3 separate regions of the Homo sapiens genome follow, and all the other regions are linked to region 1. The links are contacts of gene promoters, found by promoter capture Hi-C in blood cells and fetal thymus (Javierre and others, 2016). All regions are on one chromosome and are shown on one strand. The core of a region is centred on a gene start or on the middle of the fragment in contact, and the rest is flanking DNA. Distances in the headings are between cores, read along the strand shown. Region 1 holds the start of ALDH1A3 (aldehyde dehydrogenase 1 family member A3). Region 2 overlaps SPATA41 (spermatogenesis associated 41). Region 3 has its middle 210 kb from the start of LYSMD4.

Region 1 (3,933 bases), core at 772-3,271:
TTGCAACTGGCTCCTGAGACCAGACGCCTCGGGTCACAAGGATGTCTGAGTGTGAGGTGAGGTGGCTTTCATTCCTGACTTCATAGCCAACAAAGTGGTGACTGTCTATCTTTGACCAAACAGGCTCGACTATCTTCCCTAAAGGAGCAGAGTTCTAAGCTCAACCCCATTTGCCTCCCCCATCAATCCAGCAATTATTTAATTAACACAGTTTCCTCTATAAATTTTATTTCAGATTTTTTTTTAAAATCCTGGCAGTGACATAATTTCAACCATCAAGGACCCCCGATAAAGTCTCAGGATGGGAGTTCAGTTTGTAAAGCATCTCTAGTTGCAGCTTCCTGGGGCCTGCTGCACACACTGGCCTTGGGCCCCTGGCCTCCATCCATGCAGGAGGGGTTTGTCACTACTCCCTGACGGTCCTCTTGGGCTCAGGCACCCAAACGCTAGGGCTCAGCACCCAGCCGGGGGCCGTGGCATAGCACATCTGCCCAGATGTTTTCAGGAGATCTGAGTGGGAGCCATGGGGCCAGCCAAGAGGGCAGGGAGCCCCGGATTTGCAGAAGCAGCTGAGGAAAGAGCTGGCATTGCTCAGACTCGCCAGTGTTAGCCAGCCGATATCGGTCAAGGCTGCCCCGCTCGAGGGTCCATTATCCCCTTTCCCCGGCCTCAGCTGTGCACTCCAGGCCATAACAGCACAAGACCTTTCCACAACCCCAGGGTAAGGGTCAGATGTGGGGTTTCCAAAAGCTTCAAAACTTACCCCTCTATCCAGCTCTATCCAGAAGGACACCAGGGGACAGAGAGATGGACACGGAGGCCTCAAAACAGGAAAATAAGGAGACCCCTCCCCATTGTTGATTACTTGGGGTTACCTACAGAAAGAGATGAACTGAAGGGGCTGAGCCTATCTGAGGATTAAAGCACAGCTTTTGTCAGGAGTCCGTGCCTCCGGTCTTTGTTCCAGCGACCTGAGGAATGGCATGCATCAGAAGCCGCTTCCGTGTCTCAGATGGGGCCTGGGTCAAGTCCTGGGAGTTGATGGAGCGTTTCCCAAATCGCAAAAGGAGAGGAGCTAGACTTACCTCCCCCTCCTGGGAAGTAATGCGCGACAAGAATTTAAACTCTTAAAACGATTAGCAGCAAAGGTCTCATGTGCTTTTTTTTAATTATCATTTTTTAATCGAGGTATAATTTATGCATTTAAAAAATCAGATCAATTGCCCCCCGGGCTCTGGGATGGAAGGCGGTGTGCGCCTGCGAAGGTCAGAGGCCCAGCGGCGCCAGGGCTCCTCGGCGGAGAGCCGCCCGGGTCCGGCGCTTTGCTTTCGCCTTCTGCCCCACCGCGGGCGAAGCCCCAGGGCCCCGGGGAGACTCCAGGCCGGCTGGGCCGGGGTGCGCCCGCCGGCTGTCCGCGCTCGGGCAGGGTGGGGCGCAGCGGGCGTCTGTCCTGCTAGCGGGGATCGGGCGGCTGGACCCAAGAGCAGGGCACGTGCGCAGCGACGCGGGGCGGCCCCGCCAGGAGCCCCGACCCGGGCGCGGCGCAGGGCCCGGCGGAGAGCGCGCATTCCCGAGCGCCGCGAGCCGGCCGAAGTCGGGCGAGCGCGCCGTGCGGCGGCTGGGAGTGGGCTGCATGTGCCGCGCGGGGAGCCCGCCCGACTTCGGGGAGGCAGCGGGGCGCCGTGGCCCCGCGGCTCAGCTCCCTGCCGGGTCGGGTGTCCCAGCCCTGCGACTTCCGGGGCCCGGCGGCTCCTCGGGGAGCTCGTCCACAGGCAGCCTCCGGGGCGAGAGAGCGCGCGGCGCGGGCGCCGGGACGGTCCGCGGCACGCGGGTGGAGCCGCCGGCGCTCGGGCTCCCGCAGGGGCGGCGGGCGGGGCGGGGTGAGGCGGGCCGGCCGCCCTCCCCTCTCCTCCCTCCCGCAGCCCGCCCTCCCTTCCTCCGGTCCCGCAGCCAATTAGGCGGCCCCCTCGGGCGGGAGGCGTGGGGCGCTGCATAAAGCGGCGGGGAGCTGCCACCCCGGGAGCGGGCTGCGCAGTGTCCGGGCCGAGCCGGTGCGCCGCAGACTAGGGCGCCTCGGGCCAGGGAGCGCGGAGGAGCCATGGCCACCGCTAACGGGGCCGTGGAAAACGGGCAGCCGGACAGGAAGCCGCCGGCCCTGCCGCGCCCCATCCGCAACCTGGAGGTCAAGTTCACCAAGGTGAGGCGGGCGCCCCTCCCACCCGACGGCCGCGGGCCCCTGCGCTGGGCAGCCAGACTCGGGGCGGCGGGGGCGAGGGAGCAGCGGGCCGGGGGTCCGCCGGGCGCCGCCGAGACCCGAGCCTCCCTGCCCGGGCGCGGCTCTCCAGAAACCGCACCTTTCGCGGGACGTCTCGGGCGGGATCGCAGGCGGCGGGGCTCGGCGCTGTGAGCCTCGAAGCCGGGAAACCGAGGCCGTCCAGCGCCCGCGCGGGGCCGGGCCGCCCGCATCCCTGCGAGGCCCCGACGTGTCCCTGCGCTGCCCGCTTTGATCGCGAGTGGAGGTGCGCGCCGCGTTGACTCGGAGCGCGCTGGTTTTGGGGAGCTCCCTCCCCAAAAACCCCTGCGATGATTTCCAGGGTGGACGAGTCTGGCTTTGAGAGGGTCGGAGGGTCCGAGAGCGCCAAGAGAGAGTCCGGGAGGCAGATGGCGGAGCTGCAGTTGGAAGACTGGGGAAGCGGGTCCTCCGAGCAAAGCGCAGCGGGCGCCTTCCGTGCTTAGTTTATACCCGGCTCAGCAGCAGAACGAGGAGGAGTAGGAAGGTGCTCGCTTACTGACGAAACCTCCCCGGAGCCCAGAGGTCCCGGTGTTTACACACAAGGCGCGCGCTCCGGAAGGTCGCAGACCTGGGCCTTTGGGAAGCGGTGGGTCGCGAGGCCGCAGAAGCGCACGGTTCTCTGCCTCCTCGCTCTGTGGGCTGGGAGGCTACAGCGTTGGCAGAACGGCGAGATTACCTGCCCGGGGCAGAAAGGAATAAAAGAAGATGGTGAGGCCTCCGAGGCCTCTGAGCTGGGGCTGAGGAGGGCCGAGAGACCCGGGTCCGGGAGCGCGACCCGATGGAGGACACCCCCAGGCTGTCTGGCGTGCGCGTCTGTCGTGGGCCGGTGCTGGGGCACTTTAGAGGCACAGGCCAGGCCGAGAGCCATTGCCTTAACTTTCCCCACCTTTGGCTTCTCTTGATTTTTGCTTTTACCCATAGCCCCCAACTCCAGCTGACACCGCACTTAGAGAATTTCCTCATCCGTTTTACTTTAAGAAGTAGCAATTATCTTTCTCAAAGAATTTTAATCAAGCGGAGAAAGTTGCAGGGCACTATGTGTGGCCTTCAGATTTGGGTCTCTTGGCACTTAATTCCCAATGTCGGCTGAGCCTCTGATCACAAGACATTTAAATTAACTGTTTTCAGAAGGCTCTGTAATCAACAAAGACACGTCGCTGTAAACTAAACGCTGGAAATTATTCTTAATGTAGTTTTATTTGTAATATCAGCTTCAGAGTGAAAATTCCAACACGAATTCTGGGAAGAGTGAAAATGGTACCCGAATTTTGTAAGACCCTAACCCCAGGTGCTTGGCTGCTGCTACTGATGGTTAAGTGGGGAGGTTGTTTGTTTTCTTTTGGTTGTACAGGATTTCAAAATACTGTATATAGAAACCAGACAGTAAATGTATTATGGTCCTTTTACTTTTTATGTTTTTGAGTCCTATCAGCAATCTGACCACATACAAAAAGTTTACCTCTTTCTCTATGATTTTTAGGACACTTTTAAAGTGTAGATGTAGCCCTTATGGAGACCTTAGACAATTCACAGAGCAATGGTTGCCTGTTGTCTTGGTGGGTGCGCAACCTTTGCCAGTTAAAGGGAACCAGTGCAGGAATGAGGCTGAGGGAAGCTGGTGGATCGGCCTGGAGTGCTGG
Region 2 (3,931 bases), core at 1,423-3,922, 530 kb before region 1:
CACGCTGGTTAATTACTCCAGAGAAACTCTGGCACATGTACAAGAATGTTTGTTCACCAGGGCACCTTATTAAGAGCAAAAAATTGCAAAAACCTGAATGTTCATCGTTACATAAACGGCTACTTGAACACCATTAATTAAAGGAAATACAAAAATCTCATATATGTAACAACATGGACAGATCTCCAAGATCAGTTATCGAATTTTTTAAAAAATCAAGTTGCAGAATGAGGCACACCGAAAAAAAAATGTGTATAAACACACAGACACACATGACATGATCTGCATGGATTCAGATAAGTGTACATAAAATCCAAGAGGAAAGTCTGGAATAATACAAGCCAAACTTTGTTAAGGTTTATTGTTCTTTTTGTATTAATTGCATGCTGAGGAAAGGTACTACAAAAGGAAAATGAACACCTGGGACCCCAATTCACTCTGCCAAAGGAAAAAAATCAAGCTGAAAGCTGAGTCAAGCAATCAGCTGCCTTTTCTTCTGTTCCTAAGCAGACAGCGACAGATAAAAGGTTCAACATCTCCACAGGTAGCTGGTAGAGTAAGAGGGAGAAAGAAGAAATGGTAAAGTGACATGAAGGCAAGACGGTGTTCCGTGACTCCGTGCTGCTCCTGTCCCTGTATTGGATTCCAGCACCAGGGGCCTGTGTCTACTGCTGCACTGTTGAAGACACTGTCACGGTTATCATGGTTGATTCTGGATCTACCAAAGTAGTGCTGCCTTGACCGGGGCCCAGTTCTCATTGCCACACCAGCAACTTCCAGCACCTGTTAACATGGAATCCTTACCTCTGCCTCCTGCCATCTAATCTCCTGCCAGGGCCTCTTTTTGGCAGAAGCTAGCAAGAAGCCTAAGAAAATGTAAGGGAGTCAGAGAATGAAGGTTGCAGACTTTCAGCTTCAGTAAAGAGCAGAACATGGAAGTGGGTATGTGGGGCTGGGAGACAGAGCCGCTGAAGGTCTTAATCTGACCACCATGAGTCTGAATTCCCTTTGCCCTTCATCCTTGTATTCACCAGTCATATTAAAAGTTTAAGCTTCCATGCCTTCCACTTTCTCTTTCACAGCATTTCCTCCACAATACTGTGAACTGCCTTCCCCTACCCAAATCCAAGATCCTCCTCAGTCTTGAAACCTTCCCACTGTGCCCTTAAGAGCTGCTGCTCCATATCCTAGATCTGCTGCCTCTTCTCTGAGCGTTCTGTACTTACGAATGGAACTCCTTTGAAAATGTAAGGTGGCAACAAAATTCACATTTCTCAGCATCTTTTTTCCCCTAAGGATGGTCACTTGTCACAGTTCTGGCCACTGTGATAGAAGGAGAAGCTACTGGCTAGAGTTCTAGCAGAGTTCATTTGAGGAGCTTCCTTCTGCCGCTGTATACCCCTTTTCACTGTGTCTCTTCCTCTTTGCTCCTGACTAGAATTTGCATGTGATTCCTGGAATTCCAGCAGCCATCTCGTAAGCATGAGGAAGAGTGCCAGACCCCTGGGAAGCAAAAAGATCAATGAACTCTGGGTTGCTGATGACATCTTGGAGTCACCATGCCAGACCTGAGCTGTCTACTTCTGCACTTTTTGCTATATCAGAAAAAAAATATACTCTTGTCTCTTTTAAGCTGTTGCTATTTGGGTTGTCTGTTATATGCAGCCAAACTCGACCCCTAACAGACACACATATAGACAACTCCCATCCCCCACCCTGGGCTCTGGGCTCCTCAATTTCCTCCTTCAGTGACCTTCTGTGCTATGCTGCCCCAACTGTCCACTCTCAAATTCACACCCTACACCTTGTCATCACCCCTAGCTGTTCCACCTTCCAAAACTTGAACATCCACCTCTGACCACAGCTTCTTGTCCTCCCAGCATGCTCGTCCAAATGCTCCTACCTCAGAAGGTCTCTCAGTCTGCATCTCCCAACCCACCAGCCTCTCTTCACTTGCCTCCATATCCAGCTTGCATTCCAGGCCCCATGACTCTGAAAACACTCTTGCCAATATGCTCAGCACCCTCCCCTATCCCTTTTCACTGCAGTTGTCATGCAGAACTACAGGCCTGGGTAAACTCAACTCTCTACTCTCACTGAGCATGTGGTTGAGCTCTGAACACCACTGGAGCCAAGCATGCAACAGGGAAATCTGCAATCACCTTCTTCATTTGAGCCATCGCCATGCCCACCATTGCTACTACACTCCTCTGCCCAACTCCCCTTTCTCTCAATGCAGTGCTGATCTCGAACCCTCCCCTTCTCAGCTTCGCATTCCTCATCTTATCCCTTTCTTTTGGCAGTGGACAAGCACGCACTTCACAGAGTCATCCCCTGGTCCAGACTCTTTGCCGCGGTTTGAATGTTTATGTCCCTCCAAAATTCATGGTGAAACTTACCTCATTGTGCTGGTATTAAGAGGTGGAGCCTTTTGGGTTAAGGCCCAAAGTCATGAGGGCTCTGCCCTCATGAATGGAATTAATGCCCTCATTAAAGAGGCTCAAGAGGGCTTCTTGGCCCTTTTGCCCTGCATCTCTTCTGCCATATGAGGACACAGCATTTGTCCTCTTCAGAAGATGCAGCAACAAGGTGTCATCCTGGACACAGAGAGCTTACCAGACACTGAATCTGCCGGCACCTTGACCTTGGACTTCCCAGCCACCAGAACAATGAGAAATAAATGTCTATTATTTATAAATTACCAAGTCTAAGCTATTTTGTCATAGCAGCAGGAATGGACTAAGGCACTCCTCCTCCCAGCTCCAGACCATGTATCCAGCTGTTCAGTTGACCACTTCAAAGAGCGAGACCATGGCATGTGATCCAGTTTCAAGGATGGATGAGAATGTTTCAAATCTGCTTTTGTTTTTGTTTGACTTTGAATTAAGAAATCATCCAGTGGATGATGGAAGGATCATGGGACACTGATATCATTTGGGTACACATTGTACTTGTTTGGTTAACCCTATTTGGATAAACTGTTGTGGTCTGGATTTAGTTGCTTGCAGCCAAGGTCATCTATGATCTAATGTCTTCAGACCATTCACCAGAGTACTATTTCTCCTGCCCAAGCTCCTGATGAGGACTGGCCAGCTGAAAGCCAGGGTTAAATCCAACTCCATGCATGACCCAAGGAACAGCTACTCCCTGATGCTGAACAAGGCCAAAGCCATATACTGTGAACAAGCACAAAACAGAGCCAGGCTGGCATGTGCTTCCGCAAATTGTGAAGCCCAAACAGCTGCCTCTGCTGCAGTTGATGGTGACTTATTAGCAAAGAAAACATTTTCTTTTTGGAAAAGAGTTTTAGATTGGCTTCAATGCTTGGACAAAAAGAGGTCAGCCCTACAAGGCCCATGACACTGAGCATAGCTACAATGTATTGAAAACAGGCATCGCTGATGCCCACACAGCCCTAAAAATTGCATCTCAGTGCCCATACAATGTATAAGTTTAGGCAATTCAACTTCATGGTGAACTTTTCAAGGTTAATTGGTTGAGAAATATCAAAAAAGCATTTGTAAAAGTAATACTTTGATTTTTCAAAGAGTTGATCTTGAACCAATCTTTCAACCAGTGGTTGAATAGTGAGACCAGTACCTGCAGATGACACACCTGCTATCTAATGATGGAACCACACCATCCCCAGAAAAGAGGCCCATTATCCTGTGTTCTGGAGCAGATCCTACACATCCAAAATGGTCCTGAATAAAATGTGCGTTATACATTAGGCTGTGAGGTGGGGGATGGGGAGAGTCCAGGACACATCCCCACATCATTCTCATCACAATTATGATCTGATTTACAGAAAACAGTATCTTTGAAGTGGCATTAAAGTGAAACTTCTGGATGAGCAAAACTGGCCAGAGGTCTACATTTAACTAAGTAGCTTAATTTACAAAAATGTCTGTCCTCAGTCTAGACCAAGGAA
Region 3 (4,039 bases), core at 1,033-3,532, 940 kb before region 1:
TCTTTTCTTGTGGTGTCTTAGTCTGGCTTAGGTATCAAGGTGATGTTGGTCTTATACAATGTGTTAGGGAGTATTTCTCCCAGTTCTATTTTTTGGAAGTGTTAAGGAAGCGTTGATATTAATTCTTTGAAAGTTTGGTAGAATTCATCTGTAAAGCCATTTGGTCCTGGGCTTTTCTTTGTTGGGAGATTTTAAATTACCACTTCAATCTCTGCTGTAATAGCTCCAATTTCATTTCTTATTTTATGTATTTGAGTCTATTCACCTTTTTACTTAGTCTAGCTAAGGGCTTTTTTTTTTTTTTTCAAAAAACCAACTCCTATTATTATTATTATTATTATTATTATTATTATTATTATTATTATTTTGAGGGGGAGTCTCACTCTGTTGCCCAGGCTGGAGTGCAGTGGTGCGATCTTTTTTTACTGCAACCTCCACCTTCTGGGTTCAAGCAATCCTGCTGACTCAGGCTCCCAAGTAACTGGGACTACAGGCATATGCCACTACACCCAGCTAATTTTTGTACTTGTAGTAGAGACGGGGTTTCACCACGTTGGCCAGACTGATCTCGAACTCCTGACCTCAAGTGATCCACCCTCCTAGGTCTCCCAGAGTGCTGGGATTATGGGCATGAGCCACTGTGCCCAGCCTACTCTTATTATTGAATTTTTCCCTATGGTTTTTCTGTTCTCTATTTGGCTTATTTCTGCTCAGATTATTATTTCCTGCCTTCTGCTAACTTTGGGTTTAATCTGTTCTTTCTCTAGTTCCTTGGGGCATAATATTAGGCTAAATGTTTAGTGTTTAGTTGGAATCTTTCTTCTCTCTCTTTTTTTTTTTTAATGAATTCTCTCACTCTGTCACCCAGGCTGGAGTGTAGTGGCGTGATCTTGGCTCACTGCAACCTCTGCCTCCTGGGTTCAAGTGATTCTCCTGCCTCAGCCTTCTGAGTAGCTGGGATTGCAGATGTGCAGCACCACACCCTGCTAATTTTTGCATTTTTAGTAGGTGCATTTTTCTTGTGGCAGTTCTTGACTTGAAGTCTATTTTATCTGCTGTGATTATAGCTGCACTGCTTTCTTTTGGTTATCATTTGCATGAAATATCTTTTAACCCTTCATTTTCAGTCAGTTTGTCCCTAAGGCTAGTGTGGGTCTCTTGTAGGCAGCATATCCTTAACCTTATTATTAAAAAAAAATCCATTTAGCCACTCTGTCTTTTGATTAAAGAATTTAATCCACTTACTACATTCAAAGTAATTATTGATGGGTAAGGACTTACTACTGCCACTTTTTTGTTTTCTGGTTGTTTTGTAGATCCTTTGTTCCTTTCTCTCTTGTTCATCTTTGATTTGATGAGTTTCTGTAGCACTATTATTATTTCTTTCTCTTTACTTTGTGTATCTGCTATACTTTTTTTTTCTTTGTGGTTACCATAAGGCTTACGTAAAACTATAGACTATTTCATACTGAAAACACCTTAATTTCAGTCACATACAAAAACATTAGACTTTTACCCTCCCTCATTTATATTTCTGATGTTGCAGTTTACATCATTTTATATTATGTATCTCTTAATATAGCTTTTTTTTCTTTGACTATTTTGGTCTTTAACCTTTATACTATCTGTATCTATATATACTTTATAGAACTATATATAACAATATTAGAATATTCTAGAGTTGACTATATATTTACCTTTACCAGTGAATTTTATACTTTCATATGTTTCCATGTTAGTTATTAGTGTCCTTTTATTTCCACTTAAAGAACTCCCTTAGACATCTCTTGTAAGGAAGGTCTAGTGGTAATAAATTCCTTCAACTTTTGTTTGTCTGGGAAAGATTATTTCTCATTTATTTCTGAAGGACAGCTTTGCTGAGTATAGCAGTATAGTTAGCAGTTTCTTTTCAGCACTTCGAATATGTCATTCCATTCTCTCCTGCCCTACAAGGTGTGTGCTGAGAAATGCACTGATGGTCTAATTGGCATTCCCTTATGTGACTTGACATTTTTCTGCTACTGCTTTTAAAATGTTGTCATTGACTTTTGATAGTTTAATTATAATGTGTCTTAGAGTGGACTTCTTTGGGTTGAATCTATTTGGGAAAAGTTGAGCTTTGTGTATCTGAATATCCATGTATCTTCCAAGGCTTATGAAGTTTTCAGCAATTTATTATATAAGCTTTCTTTCTCTATCTTTGTCTCTTCTCCTTCTGGAACTTTCATAATGCAAATATTTGTTCTTTTAATGGCATCCCACAGGTCCTATAAGCTGTCTTCACTCTTTTTCATTCTTTGTTTTCCCTCCTCTGACTAATTTTAAAAGACTCATCTTCAAGTTCAAAGATTCGTTCTTCTCCTTGATCTAGTTTGCTGTTTAAGCTTTCTATTGTATGTTTTATTTTGTTAACTAAATTTTTTAGCTCCAAGGTTTGATTAAATTTTTATGATATCTCTTTTGTTGAATTTCTCATTCAGATAATGAACTGTTTTCCTAATTTCATTGAATTGTCTATCTGTATTCTCTTATATCTGAGTTTTCTTAAGGTCACTATTTTGAATTCCTTTTTAGGCAATTTGTAAACTTCCCTTTCTGGGGAGGGGGGAAGGTCAGTTGCCTGAGAATTATTATGTTCCTTTGGTGGTATCATGTTTCCTGGCTTTTTCTTCTTCCTTTTTTTGGGGGAGGAGGGGAGTGGGGCAGTGTCCCATTGTCACCCAGGCTAGAGTGCAGTGCATGATCATGGCTCACTGCAGCCTTAACCTCTCAGGCTCAAGCAATCCTCCCACCTCAGCTTTCTGAGTGGCTGTGATCTCAGGCATGTGCCACCATGCCTGAGTAATTTTTTTATTTTACATTTTTTTTGTAGAGATAGGGTCTTCCTATGTTACCCAGAGTGGGTAACATAGGAAGTTATGGGGAACATATTCAAACTCCTGGGCTCAAGTAATCCTCCTGCCTCAGCCTCTCAATGTGTTTGTTGGGATTACAGGCATGAGCCACCATGTCTGGCCTTTTCTGGCTTTTTCATGTTTCTTGTGTTCCTGCATTGATGTCTGCACATCTGATGGAATGATTACCTTTTCCAAACTTTACAGAGTGGTTTTTGCAGGGAAAGTCTTAGTATACCAGTTGGGAAGAATATGGTGGTTCTACTCTGCATCTGAGTAGACACAGTAGTATAACCTCCATGCAGCTGCTTCAGCTACGATCAACATCAGCAATGACTGGGTGCCTCAGTAGCCTAGGCTATAGCAATATGTGGCAGCAGCAGTGGCAGTGTAGGTTGTTAGGATCCCAGGTGGCAACAGCTTTTGGGGTCCTCCTGTTTTTCTTTTCCCCACAATGAGAAGACTAGCTGAGAGGACCCCTTTTGATGTTCTGACACAGCCCACGAGCAGCTGCAGCAGCGTGGGGTTCCAGGTCACAGGTGACAAGAGCAAATGTGGAGCTTGGGCCCTGGACTCAGGGTCTTGAGAACGAACTGTGGCACCTGGGTCTTGGGGTACAGGTTCAATCTCTGAAGGAAGGGTTGCATGCAGACTGCCCACAGAGCCAGAGTCTATAATCTGAGGCAACTCCCAGCAGCTTGAACCCAGGCGGCCGGGTTGTAGCTGTGACTCCGACTCTAGGGGTTAGGGAATAGCACTGGCCTAGCTTCATAGAAGAAGGGGAGCTCTGGAGGTGTGAGCCTGGGCATCAGGGGTACAGCTGCAATTCAGGAACCAGAGCCAATAGGGTACAATGGCAACTCAGGCGTAGGGGGGATGAAACACCATGTAGTCATGACTCTGGACCCTGGGATGGTGGGAAATGGGAGGCTCGGTAAGGCAAGGTGAGGCTGCAACAAGGATCTCAGATTAGCAGAGTTCAGCTTTCACTTGGGTCCACAGCGCCAGTTGGGGAGGGGGAGGCAGGGAGAAGTACGACAATGGCACTATTCCTTGTGAGTGAAATGTCTCAGCAGCTCAGACTCTAGGGGTGAGTCCAGTTCCAGAGAAGCAAGGTACTACAGTTATTTGCCCAGTAGGATGGG

The links. The method cuts DNA at HindIII sites, captures the fragments that hold promoters and counts their contacts. A CHiCAGO score of 5 or more calls a contact.
Region 2: a contact is called between a fragment that was not itself captured here and the fragment with the promoter of ALDH1A3 in region 1, in 4 of 17 cell types (total CD4 T cells, naive CD8 T cells, M0 macrophages and 1 more). The highest score is 7.2, in total CD4 T cells.
Region 3: a contact is called between a fragment that was not itself captured here and the fragment with the promoter of ALDH1A3 in region 1, in 4 of 17 cell types (naive CD4 T cells, total CD8 T cells, total B cells and 1 more). The highest score is 6.7, in naive CD4 T cells.

The regions. Positions count from the first base shown.
Region 1 is chr15:100,877,810-100,881,742 of GRCh38, forward strand. It overlaps ALDH1A3 (aldehyde dehydrogenase 1 family member A3), which reads left to right and starts at 2,022. Exons shown (of 13, transcript NM_000693.4): 1 at 2,022-2,197. The coding sequence starts at 2,099. LOC124903575 (collagen alpha-1(I) chain-like) reads right to left here and starts at 1,994. Exons shown (of 1, transcript XM_047433433.1): 1 at 1,137-1,994. The coding sequence starts at 1,994. The coding sequence ends at 1,212. RefSeq lists a silencer at 1,943-2,062 and an enhancer at 2,554-3,068. The HindIII fragment of the contact is 4,913 bases long and covers 749-3,933 here.
Region 2 is chr15:100,344,125-100,348,055 of GRCh38, forward strand. It overlaps SPATA41 (spermatogenesis associated 41), which reads right to left. Exons shown (of 2, transcript NR_028139.1): 2 at 333-1,503. Among named protein-coding and RNA genes, the nearest start is that of ADAMTS17, 4.1 kb to the left of the region's middle. The HindIII fragment of the contact is 3,244 bases long and covers 1,051-3,931 here.
Region 3 is chr15:99,939,880-99,943,918 of GRCh38, forward strand. No RefSeq gene overlaps it. Among named protein-coding and RNA genes, the nearest start is that of LYSMD4, 210 kb to the left of the region's middle. The HindIII fragment of the contact is 200 bases long and covers 2,183-2,382 here.